2 separate regions of the Homo sapiens genome follow, and region 1 is linked to region 2. Evidence: promoter capture Hi-C in human tissues and cell types (Jung and others, 2019). All regions are on one chromosome and are shown on one strand. The core of a region is centred on a gene start or on the middle of the fragment in contact, and the rest is flanking DNA. Distances in the headings are between cores, read along the strand shown.

Region 1 (5,296 bases), core at 1,802-4,301, 1.1 Mb after region 2:
ATCCTCACAACATGGCAGCTGGCTTCCCCCAAAAGTGGACAACATAAAAGAGAGCAAATGGAAGTGGTGATATTTTTTATGGGCTATCTTTAGAGGTCACAGATCATGACTTCTTGCCACATTTGGTGTGTTAAAAGTGAGTCGCTACCTCTGGTGGACATTGAAGTGGCAGGGAATTAGACTCCAGCTTTGAAAGGAGTTGTGTCAAAGAATTTATGGACATGTTTTAAAACCACCAAATAACCCATTAACAAATTAATGGATAAGGAGATGAGGAAAAATTTGATGTCATGACTCAAAATCAATTTTCCCAGTTTTAGAATAGAGAAGCAAAAATAACTCCACAATAGTTTAAGAGCACTATAATAAAAAAAATCAGACAGTAGATTAATATTTGGGATTACTTCTTTACTTTAATACCAACATGGATTCAGAAGTAAAATGTTCACAAATGCTTTGACATCTGAAAGCATCCTGGAAAAAAAATTTTTTTGACCAAATCCTGGAAGGTCAAAGGCCAATGGCCAGCACAGCTCTGCAGAAAATATCAGTGAGTAAAGTAAGGAATGAAACAATTGCAAAATAATAGCAACTTCTATCCTTGCAGAGTTTACAGTCTGTCCACTCATTGATTGCAGGGAACAGGAATATAGAATTTTGTTTTCTGCTGATTTATATCAGCCATACATCTGATCCTAGGATTGGAGAACTGTGCTGATAAAGGGCAAGGTAAGAATTTGAAAAAGGCATAACTTATACAAGCTATTGTAATAGTACCATCATACGTATTGCCAAGCAGAACTTTAGCACAAACCAAGATCCCTTAATCACTTTTTGTGAAGAAGAGGTTAGTATCAGTGTCCTGGCTCCCAGTTAGGGCATATACTGTCTTGTTAAAAATCTCTTGTTTTAATTGAGTGGTGCTGTCTCCTTCCCTTCCTTTCCTGGGCCATTTTTGAGCACGGAAGAATGGTTTGTGAACCATGTAAATAATAAATAACCCATGCCACACCACATTCACATAAAAAATGGTGGTGACTCATAGTGGCAAGAAGTCCAGTTTTAAAAATGTGTGAGTATGTTTGTATTTCTTTTTCATCTGAATTCCTACAAAGTAAAGATTTCACATAAGTGATTTTTCCATATGACAGAAACTTACTCCTTCAGGCACTCACACATTGTTATTTAATTTTAACTATTGTTAATGGAAACATTTGTAAAATACCATAGATGATTCTACACTTTTAAACTAAGTATGCTAAACTTCAACCTTTTCTTGATGATTCTAGATTCTCTTCATGGTTATCAAAAGTTGTTCTTTATTTTACAAGGCAATGGAAGGCCAGGTGAGGTGGCTCCCTCCTGTAATCCCAGCACTTTGGGAGGCCAAGGCGGGTGGATCACCCGAGGTCAGGAGTTTGAGACCAGCCTGGCCAACATGGTGAAACCCTGTCTCTACTAAAAATTAAAAAAAAAAAAATTAGCTGGGCATGGTGGTGCACAGCTGTAGTCCCAGCTACTTGGGAGGCTGAGGCAGGAGAATTGCTTGAACCTGGGAAGCAGAGGTTGCAGTGAGCCAGGATGGCACCATTGCACTCCAGCCTGGGCAACAAACAGTGAAACTCCATCAGGCAACATAATACAGCAGAAAGTTTATTGAATTAGAAATCAGAATGACTTCATTGAGTTTTTTAACCTCTCTGCCACACAGTTTCCTCATCTGTAGAATGGGAATATTATCTTCCCTGGAGTTCTCTTTGTTGATGATAAATATTAAATTATATAACACATGTAAATATTATCAATTATTAAATATTAAAGTGTAGACACTGAAACAAATGACTGTTTCAGCCCAAGAAGTGTTACATGGCTATGATTTTGGTATTCTTGTGTTTACTGTACCTGCATCATGATTCCCCAAAGCAGTTAGATTATGTCTAAAGTTACAGCAAATAGATCCTGAGTAAATGGATTCTACTTTAAAAAAAAGAAAAAAGTCTTACTTTTGTTCATATAGGTTTTATTTAAAATTCCACATATTTTTGATATCTGGAGTTCTCTTTTGCTTATTTTTTCCTTCTTTGCTCTTTTTGGCTAGTTGAGTTTGATAGATGGGAGATTTCTGAGTCACTGAAGTTTTATAATCTGTGTAACTTTTTTCAGCATGAACACAAATGCCATGAATATTTAATGTAATATTTCCCATGTTGACTGTTTCTCAAAATAGATCTAGGTATATAAAAATATGGCCAATGCTGACATATTTTTTTCAGTGTGAGTACAGCCACTGAGATCAGTATAGCCACACACCGTGGCCTACGTGGTTAAGTTTTCCAAGCATTTGGGGAAAGTGTTACATTGACATAGTTCTAATATTACCATCAGGCTTTAGAACATGGATTCCTAAGAAACCATAAGTTCAGCCAGCCACATTATAAACAGAGTAGATGGCACTGGGGGCATTATCCCTCCAGAGTTGTTGCATAAAGCAATGTGTCTCTCTTCCAAAGAAAACCCTTAACCTCACCTTCATAATTTCATCACAGAGCAAAAGAATAACTGAGCTACAGAAAATGCAGGCTCCAAATTTGACAGTGGTTCTGAAAGTCATTTCAGGCAATGGCTAAAGCAGTAGTTTCTAAATGCTGGACTGTGGCCGAGGGCATCAGACTTAGCTGGCAAACTTATTCCTAGCTCTGACATCACACTACTGAAATCAGATCTTTTGGAGATGAGGCATAGGCATCTGTACTTTCAACAAAACATCCCGGTGATTCTCCTGAGCAGGCCATATTTGAGAATCACTGGTCAAAATTAGGTAATTGAGATTGCCCCCACTCTGCACTATCTCACAATTGATAGAATGCTCCACAGAGAGGCACCGGACTCTACCATTCTCCCCCGTCAATAAACACTCATCTAACAATAGTACTCTGATTTCTATTCCTTCACCAACTATTTACTCAGCTCTTACCACATGCATTGTGATGGCTGCCAAATTTACAATAATGAATAAGGCAGAGATGGTCTCTTCCATCCATGAGCTCAAAACCCAGCGGTAGGAGGAGGGGGAGGTGGTGTATTACATATTAAGCAAATAACCATTAAAATTTCTGTATATCATGAGTGCTATAAAGGGAAACAATAGAGTGTTTGAGAAAGTATGACTAGTGTTCAACTATTAATGGATATGAGAGTTGTCAGAGAAGACTCCATCAAGAAATAACATTCAATTTGAGATTTGAATAATGGGCATCGTTTAGGACTATGAGCAATCCAAGATTAACAGCAGGTACACGTACCCTGCTGCAAGAGTTTCACTTCTTGCTTATGCTTGTTCTCAAATCGGAGTCTCGGATCCACTGAACAATGTGCCTTAAGGCAGCTTAGGAAAAGAACAGTCAGAATGAGAAGGAAGTCCACAGCACCAGTGGAGCCCATTAAGAAATCCCAGACCTGGATGTTTGTTTATTGTCAGTTTCCAATCTAGGGGTCTCTTAATCAGATTTTACATAGTTTAATCTAAAACAGTGGTTCTCAATCTTGGCTGTACATTGGAATCTCCTAGGAAGCTTTTAAAAATTCTGATGCCTTGGCTTCACTCCTAGAAATTCTGATTTAATTGGTCTGTGGTGTAGTCTGAACATGAGGGTTTTCTAAAGCTTTCCAGATGATTCTAACGTGTAAACAATGTTGAGAACCACTACTTAAAATAGGAAAATATTATATCTAAATTTATCAACAAGGAAAGTCAAAGGAGAGTTATAACAATCTGTGTGTTTTATATATCCCTGTTGGAAAGTGAAGAACAGCTGCTAAAATTGAACCTTAAGTCACTAGCACACCAACCACTAAAGATGGCCTCATTGACTCTCTGCTTCACATACAGATGACTCTCTTCAGCACCTGATTTGCTTTTATGAGGCAATCTTTTACATCTATGGCTGTGTGTGCTGGGCTAAGAAAGAAGATGTACATGAAAGTTAGCAAAATATCTTTTCCCTCAGAAAATTTGAAGTCCATTTGGAAAGACAGGACTAACAACAACAAAATAATAAAATGAATACAGTTCAAGGTACTAGTTAAGACAACAGAAGTTCAAGAAATGGGGGCAAGAAAAGCTTCACTGAAAGCTGGGCTGATCAAAAGAGACAAGAATATATAGGATCTAAGTGATACGGGAAGAGCAGAAAAACCAAGGCAAAGCAGCAGGAATAACCATGGTAGAAAAAGAGAATAGGGAAGAGACCTGCCTCATCCCCCACAGTGGGAGTTGAGAGTAACAAGAGATCAGCAATCTCTCCTGCTGAAGTTGGTCAATGACCAGCAGCCATTGTTACATCTTGTTTTTCAGAGAACCATTCTTCTTAGGCATCTTCCTTCATAATGAAGAAGGGTGGTTTCATTTTTCCATTTCCTTCTGTAGGAAAGATGACTAGCCATTGATTTCCAAATGTTTAGATGTCAACAGCCAGGTTTTACAATTTTTAGTTTCTCATAGATCCCCTTGTCCCCCTGGGCATAGGTAGGTAGAATAATCTCTCATATTCAATCTCTCAGGTATAAATTTCTCCAGATGACATACACAAAGGGGAATAAAATCATAACTATTACATATTATGTGCTTACTAAGGCACTGGGGAACATGAGGTAACATACATTATCTCGTTTAATCTTCACCACATTTCATTAGGAAACTATGATTCCCCATTTTTCAGATGAAAACCATGATGCTCAGAAACAGTAAGAGATTTGCCCAAGTTTGCACAGTAAGCAGTGGAACTGGCACTTTCACCCAAGTTTAACTTGTAGGTACTGCCTTTTAAAAATTTTATAACAGACAAGAAATTAAGATTCTTGGTATTGCTTTACTAAATCCAAGACCTCAGCGATCACTGTGCAGCAGAAACATCTGTGGCACTTTTTTTGACTATAGAAGTTTGGACCATCCCCCAACCCCACCTCAGAACAACTGAGAATCTCCAAGGCAGGGCCTAGAAATCTATATTTTTTAAACCCCACACATGATCATGACGTACAGCTTGGATGGAGAACAATGGGCCTATTCAGTGGCAAGGGCTGGGAAACATTTGTGTAGCTTAAATGCTACTTCCTGTGCTTATATGCCGGTCTATACAAGGCTCCTCACTTTGAAATATGTGTAGCATTTTTCTATTTAAACTGTTGGAAACAACCATAATAAAGAAAACAGCGATGATGAAAACTAATAGAAGCAAGTTTGAAAAGACACTCTACTATGGAGAAGCTCAATAAATCCCAAGTTTGGGACACTTGT
Region 2 (5,895 bases), core at 2,471-4,970:
GAACACTGTGTGAAATTGAAAAAAAAATAGTTTTAACTCTGCATTTTAATGGGCATTTCAGACGAGGCCAAAGGCTTCACCTACATACACACCGGAGTGACACTTCATAAATGCAAGAGAATGCTCTTTTAATCTCTCCACCTCCTTGCCTTATAAACTTGTTTGCTCCTGTTCTACTAAAGCCACAGTGTGGGGGCCAAAATAATAGGAAGGTTACACACTGGAGAGCTTCCTTCCAAAGACCACATTTCTCCCAGCGTTGCAGCAGACAAAAATAAATAAATCGTGTTTTAAAACTTTAAGTGTGCGTGCGCGTATGCCCTTTGTGTTCCTCCGGGCGGCTTAGCCACACTTCGGGATGCTTGCGGCCTCTGGCTTGGGGCTCAGTTGCTGTTTACCCACTGTCCCCTCCCCTCGGCATCCCGTCGCTTTGCCCACCTACCCTCAGCCGGAAGAGCTCGTGTGGTACACGTTAGGATCGTGCATCTCACCCCTCGCCAAGTGCTCTCAGAATATAAAATAATTTCCAGCCATCTTCCTTACTCCCCCTAAGAGCGGCTCCAAGCAAGCAAGAGTCCCTTCCACCTCGCTGCACTTCGAGGTCTGCCCCCTTTATTTACAGAGAATTAAGAAGTGGGTGATTAGGACTTCCTGGCCGACAGAAGCAGCCCTGATCCCAGCTCAAGCTGCTGTTAGTGACTCCCAGACCCTCAGTAGGAAACAGAAGAAAAAAAAGTAAAAAATAAAAAAACCCAAAGTTGCTTCTCATCGGCAGGAAACTTTCTCCTTCGTCAAGGCCTCTGTTAGGGAGCCTGAAACGAGCAGTCCTGCGTCCTTTGGCCAGGAATCCTGTCCTCGGGGAGAAGGCCCCGGCAAGATTCTGGGGACTCAGTCACTCCAGGCTGTGGGGTCTGGAGTGGTCGGGCTGTGAGAGCGAAAGAGGCTAGTTCTTCGGGGCTTTGACTCCAGGGGCAGAAGAGCAGGCCCCCTCCACGGTCCCTTCCTAAGGCAAGCGGCGCCCGCCCCCCACCATACAGAAGTAACTCCCCACTTAGTCGTCCACCTTCCCACCCCCACAGAGACAAACACACACTCTCACACTCACACACAGTAAGCTGGGTCCGGGGGGTCAGTTTACCCATAGATCGCGTCCTTGTCCCGCTTCAAGGCGTCGTTGACAGCGGATCCCATACTGGCCGGCATGACATTGGGGTGCGGGGCGTGCGCGCCGTAGTGCTGTGTGGCGTGGAGCGGCGGCCCGTGGTTCAGGTGGTGAACCGGGGGGATCGGCCGCGGCGCGTGAGGGTCTCCGTACATGGAAGCGGGAACCCCTACTCCGTCCATCCCGCCGTAATGGGGCAGCTCATCGTACTGTCAGAACCCGGGAAGGGGGAGGGGGCGCAGGAGGTGAGGGAGAACAGAGGAGGGGGGTGGAAAGGGAAAAAGAGCAGGGAGAAGAGGGCGAACAGAAAAGAGAGGAAGGGATAAAGATGAGAGAGAGGGAGGGAGGTAAGAGAGAAGAGAGGAGGAGGAGGAAAAGGAGGAGAGGGGGAGAGAGAGAGAGAGAGAGAGAGAGAGAGAGAGAGAGAGAGAGAGAAAATAAAAATAAAAACAAAGTCAGAAAGGAGAAAAGTACCGAGCACAAGTTGAGCACACAGAAACCAAACCAGCCAAAACAACGGAGTTAAAAGTTGTGAGGAAAAAATGTTATTAAATTTAAAAATGAAAAAGCATGAACCAAGAGCAACGTTTAGAGAAGGAAGAGGAGGCGGCGAGGCCGGGGATTTGAGGGGGCGCCGGGAGGCCCCGCTCCCGCCGGAGGCAACAGAACCGTAGCGAGCCAACGGAGGGAGAAGTGGAGTTAGTGTGAGGAGGAAGCCCCGGATCCCACCCCTAACCCCCCTTCGCCTCCTCTGAGGATCCAATAAATCAAAAGGCGAAATGAAACAAAATAAAGAGAAGAAAAACGCTAATAATCAGCACGAGAACGCCGAGGACTAGGAAAGACTAGGGCCAGTGCCTCCCCGGGGGCAGGGAGCGGAGGGTGGGGGGGCGAATAACGTGAAAGTTACCAGAAACATTATTTAGCAGCGGATTCCCTGCGTCCTTGTCAATTTCAGAGACAAAACAAGCAGCCCAGGCTAGTAGTCTAGGCGGCGGCGCAGCGGCTGCGGCAGCGCGGCCCCAGCGGCGGCCCCGGCGGCGGCTCCTACGCAGCCCGTGCCCGCCCCGAGCCGCGCGAGCCACGGCGGCAGCGGCGCAGCAGCGGCAGCAGGAGAACCGGGGGAATCGCGCTGCTGGGGTAAAAGCTGGAGCGAGGCGAAAGCGTGTAACGATTGCACACGCACACACACACACCACTCACACGCACTCGCCGCCCGCCCGCTCGCACAGCGCTGGAACACGCGCGCCCAGACACGCACACACGCACGCACACACACTCGCACACACGCAGAGGCACGGGAGGGAAAGAAGCCGATGAATAATTTTGCTATTTTTTAAAATACTGGCCGCCATCATCAAGCAGCGAGCAGCAGCAGAAGCGTTGAAGGGAGAGGAGGCATCGGGACAGGCCCCTCTTAGGAGAGGATTTATATCTAGGTAAGTGTTGGAGATTTAAACCTACCCTTTGCGCCATCAGTCTGCGCTCCAATAAACTCCTGGATGTGTCGTATATTTAATATCCCAGTCCGGATAAGAAAGTGATCTAGGCTGAAGATTCCTTTTTTTTTTTTCCAAACCAAAGAGACTTCTCCCAATTCTCCAATATGCTATTTTTTAGGGGGGAAAAAAAGCCCAGTCTAGACAACGAAGAATTTTTTTTTCTGTGATATTTCTTCTTTTTCTCTTTTTTCCTCTTCTTCCTCCTCCTCCTGATCTTCCTCCTCCTCCTCCACCTCCTCCTCCTCCCCCCTCCCCTCCTCCTCCTCTTCGGTCCTCCTTTCCCCCTCTTTCTCTTCTCTTCCCCTCAGTTGGAAAAAAAAAGAAAGAAAAGAAAAAGAAGAAAAAGAAGAAAAAAATTGTCAAGCCCCCGAACTGAAGGTTACGAGCGGCCCGTCAGCAGCCCACATGTAACCGAACTGTCGTGTTTCATGGCTTTTTGCCACTCCAGCTGTCAATCAAAGCCCGGAATGTCAAGGTAGTGAATGAATGATGGTTGATGATGATGAAGAGGAGGAATCTTTCAGACCCGTTTTTTTCTTCCAGTAAAACTCCGCGAGGGGTTTCTGCTTCTTGAATTTTTTCCTCCCCCCTCCCCCCTTTTTTAGCTTTGCCCCCGCGGTATCTATAATACGATCCTCTCTCTTTAAAGTATTGTTCAAAGAAAGCAGTGAGAAAAATCAAGAAAAAAAAATGAATAGTTTGCAAAAATTGGACTTCCTCCCCCCCTTTCCTGGTAGGTATTTTGTCTCTCCCTCTCTCTCTTTCTCGCTCGCTCGCTCGCTCTCACTCGCGCTCGCTCTCTCGCGCTCGCTCTCTCTCGCTCTCTTTCTCTCTCTGGGAGATGAGTGAGTGTCAGTAGGTGTTGGCAGGTTGGCTGCTGCCTGGCTTATTGAAGAGCCTCAGTTTGGCGGCGCGGGTCGGCGGCGGGAGAACGAAATGACGGAACCCGGAAGTCGTGGTGGCCATAGCCCGTCGTACGGCGGAGACACATCCCGGGAGTGGGGAGCGGGAGCGAGGAGGAGCGCGCCGCGCCGAGCCTCTGATATGCAACGAGTGCGATCGGACAGCCCCGGCTGGGGGGGTGGGGGAGGCGGGGGGGCGGGAGGGGGAGGGGAGGCTCGAGCCGGGCGGACCCGAGCAAATCAGCAAGCCTGCTCCTCCACGGGGATGGGGGACGGCGGGGGGGAGGAAAAGGAGAGTGTGTCTGTGTGTGTGAGTGTGTGTGTATGTGTGTGCGTGCGCGCGTGTGTGTTGCGCGCGCGCGCGCGCGAACAGGGAGAGAGGGAGAGGGGGAGAGAGAAGAGGACAGGGAGAGCGCAGAGAGGAAAACTGCAGAAAACCACAGGGAAAGTACGGTACCGCCTCAGATCTTTTCATTTAAAAAAAAAAAAAAACTTACTTCTAGTTCATTTTCCCATCACTCCCGGCTCCTGCCTAACTGGGTCTTGCCGGGGACGTTTGGCATGGCGCTCTAGCTTTTGTTCCTTTTAATTCCGCGGCCTCCCTCTCCTCTGCCCGCCGATTACAGCACCCCGAAGGCTTCCTGCTAACGTCCAAGGGCAGCAAGCTCTGCAGACGGTACCACTGCCGGGCTAAATTTTTTATTAAGTGGCACTTTCTTTTCTGCGCAGATCCAGCAACCTTGTCAATACTCATTTTTTTCCAGGACCAGAAGAGACCAGCTTAACTCAGAGCACACTCCCTCCAAGCGGTGCGGACAAGGGGCCACCCCGAGAGTCTTTGGGGGCCGCGGCGGAATCGGGAGGGAGGAAGTGAGGAGGCAGTCATCTGGGTCCGATGTAGCCAAAGGCGTGTGTGTGTGTGTGTGTGTGTGTGTGTGTGTGTGTGTGTGCGCGCGCGCGCCCGCGCGCCCGTGCGCGCGCGCGACTAGTGTGCGTCTCCAAAGTGGATCTCACTCAGAGCTGGGAAGCACAGGAGGAAAAGACGGAGAGAGTGGGGGAGAAAGAAGTTGCCGGGCGAGGAGGAGTGGCCGGCGCTCACAGCCCAGCTTTGTTGTGGTCGCCCGAGGCGCAGCGGCGGGCCGCGGTAACGCCTGCTAATGGCTGTGTTAATTACACAGGGGCGATTTCGCGGGGTCAGGGAGATGGGGCCAGCTCCGAAAGAACTTTTCCAAAAAGGAAAAGGAAACGAAGGGAACTACCCCACACCGTTTGGGTGGAAACTAGTTGTGGCCGGTGCCCTGTCCTCCCTGGCCCGAGCTGCACCAGGCTTCACCTCTGCGCGGCTGGTTTCCCGGCGGCCGCGCGTCAATCACTACGAGCCCGGAGTTGGGGGCGGAGCCACGGTCACCCCGCGCAAGCCTTGCCGCCCAGCAGCCCCCATGCCCCTCGGCCCCTTGTGGCGCGGCCGGGCGGACAGGCGCTGGAAGCGCGTCCTCTCCCCAACTTCTCGCTCTCGCCCTCCCAGTCCCTGGCCCAGAGAGTGGAAAGCGGACTGTTGTTCTCCAACAGCCGCATCCCTCCCCAACTTTGAACCCATTCTGAGAAGTGGAGAGTAGTGTCTTCCGCGAGCCGCGTCTAACCGACTTTCCCGCGGAGGGAGGGTGGGATGGGGGAGGTTGATTAGAGAGAATAAAGTACTCTGTGTGTGTGTTGTGTGTGAGAGAGAGAGAGAGAGAGCGAGAGAGAGCGGGGAGGAGGGCGGGTGGGAGGGCTCTTTTTTTTGGCCCCCGTTCCATGTTCCCTGCTTCACTGTAAGCTTTCGAGCAACAGAAACTAGGCTAAGATTGCAGCCTGCAGAGACTCCAAGCGGAGTCGGAGAAATTTGGCCTCGTTTTAATAGGGCTGAGGAATGAACTCCGGAGGTCAATAAAGCCCTCCAAAAATGATGAATGATTGAGCACCTGTGATGATGATAGTGATTACCAGAGCAATTAAACAGTTTGATTAAATGAGCCATCATAACAATGATGTCTGCGGGAAATCGGCCCTCACATATAAAGAAAGATAGTGCGAAGGGGCTGGCAGAGGCGCGGATAGCGCGACGCCAGGGAGAGGGGCTGCGGGCCGCGAGGTTTCTGCCCAATGGCCCGAGCAGGGACGGCCAGACTCACGGAGCTTCAGGGAGGAGAGTGTAGCCCAGGTTTTCAGCCACTCTTTTTTGCCGGGCTTCAAGCCTGCTAGAGCCGACGGGTAGGAAATCTGAAGGTTGGGGGGAGGGTACTTCCTCCACGTCCTCTTTTTTTTCCTAGAAGAACTCCAAGATTAAAAG

Evidence for each region. The method cuts DNA at HindIII sites, captures the fragments that hold promoters and counts their contacts. A contact is called where the count stands out against the background at its distance.
Region 1: a contact is called between a fragment that was not itself captured here and the fragment with the promoter of MEIS2 in region 2, in 1 of the 25 tissues and cell types used here (dorsolateral prefrontal cortex).

The regions. Positions count from the first base shown.
Region 1 is chr15:38,192,702-38,197,997 of GRCh38, forward strand. No RefSeq gene overlaps it. Among named protein-coding and RNA genes, the nearest start is that of SPRED1, 57 kb to the right of the region's middle. The HindIII fragment of the contact is 3,468 bases long and covers 1,318-4,785 here.
Region 2 is chr15:37,096,829-37,102,723 of GRCh38, forward strand. It overlaps MEIS2 (Meis homeobox 2), which reads right to left and starts at 3,721. Exons shown (of 12, transcript NM_170675.5): 1 at 2,627-3,721; 2 at 1,139-1,371. The coding sequence starts at 2,638. It overlaps LOC124903465 (a long non-coding RNA gene), which reads left to right and starts at 2,420. Exons shown (of 2, transcript XR_007064581.1): 1 at 2,420-2,601; 2 at 2,973-5,895. RefSeq lists silencers at 2,093-2,292, 2,443-2,502, 4,952-5,091 and enhancers at 3,562-3,721, 3,972-4,251. The HindIII fragment of the contact is 11,980 bases long and covers 1-5,895 here.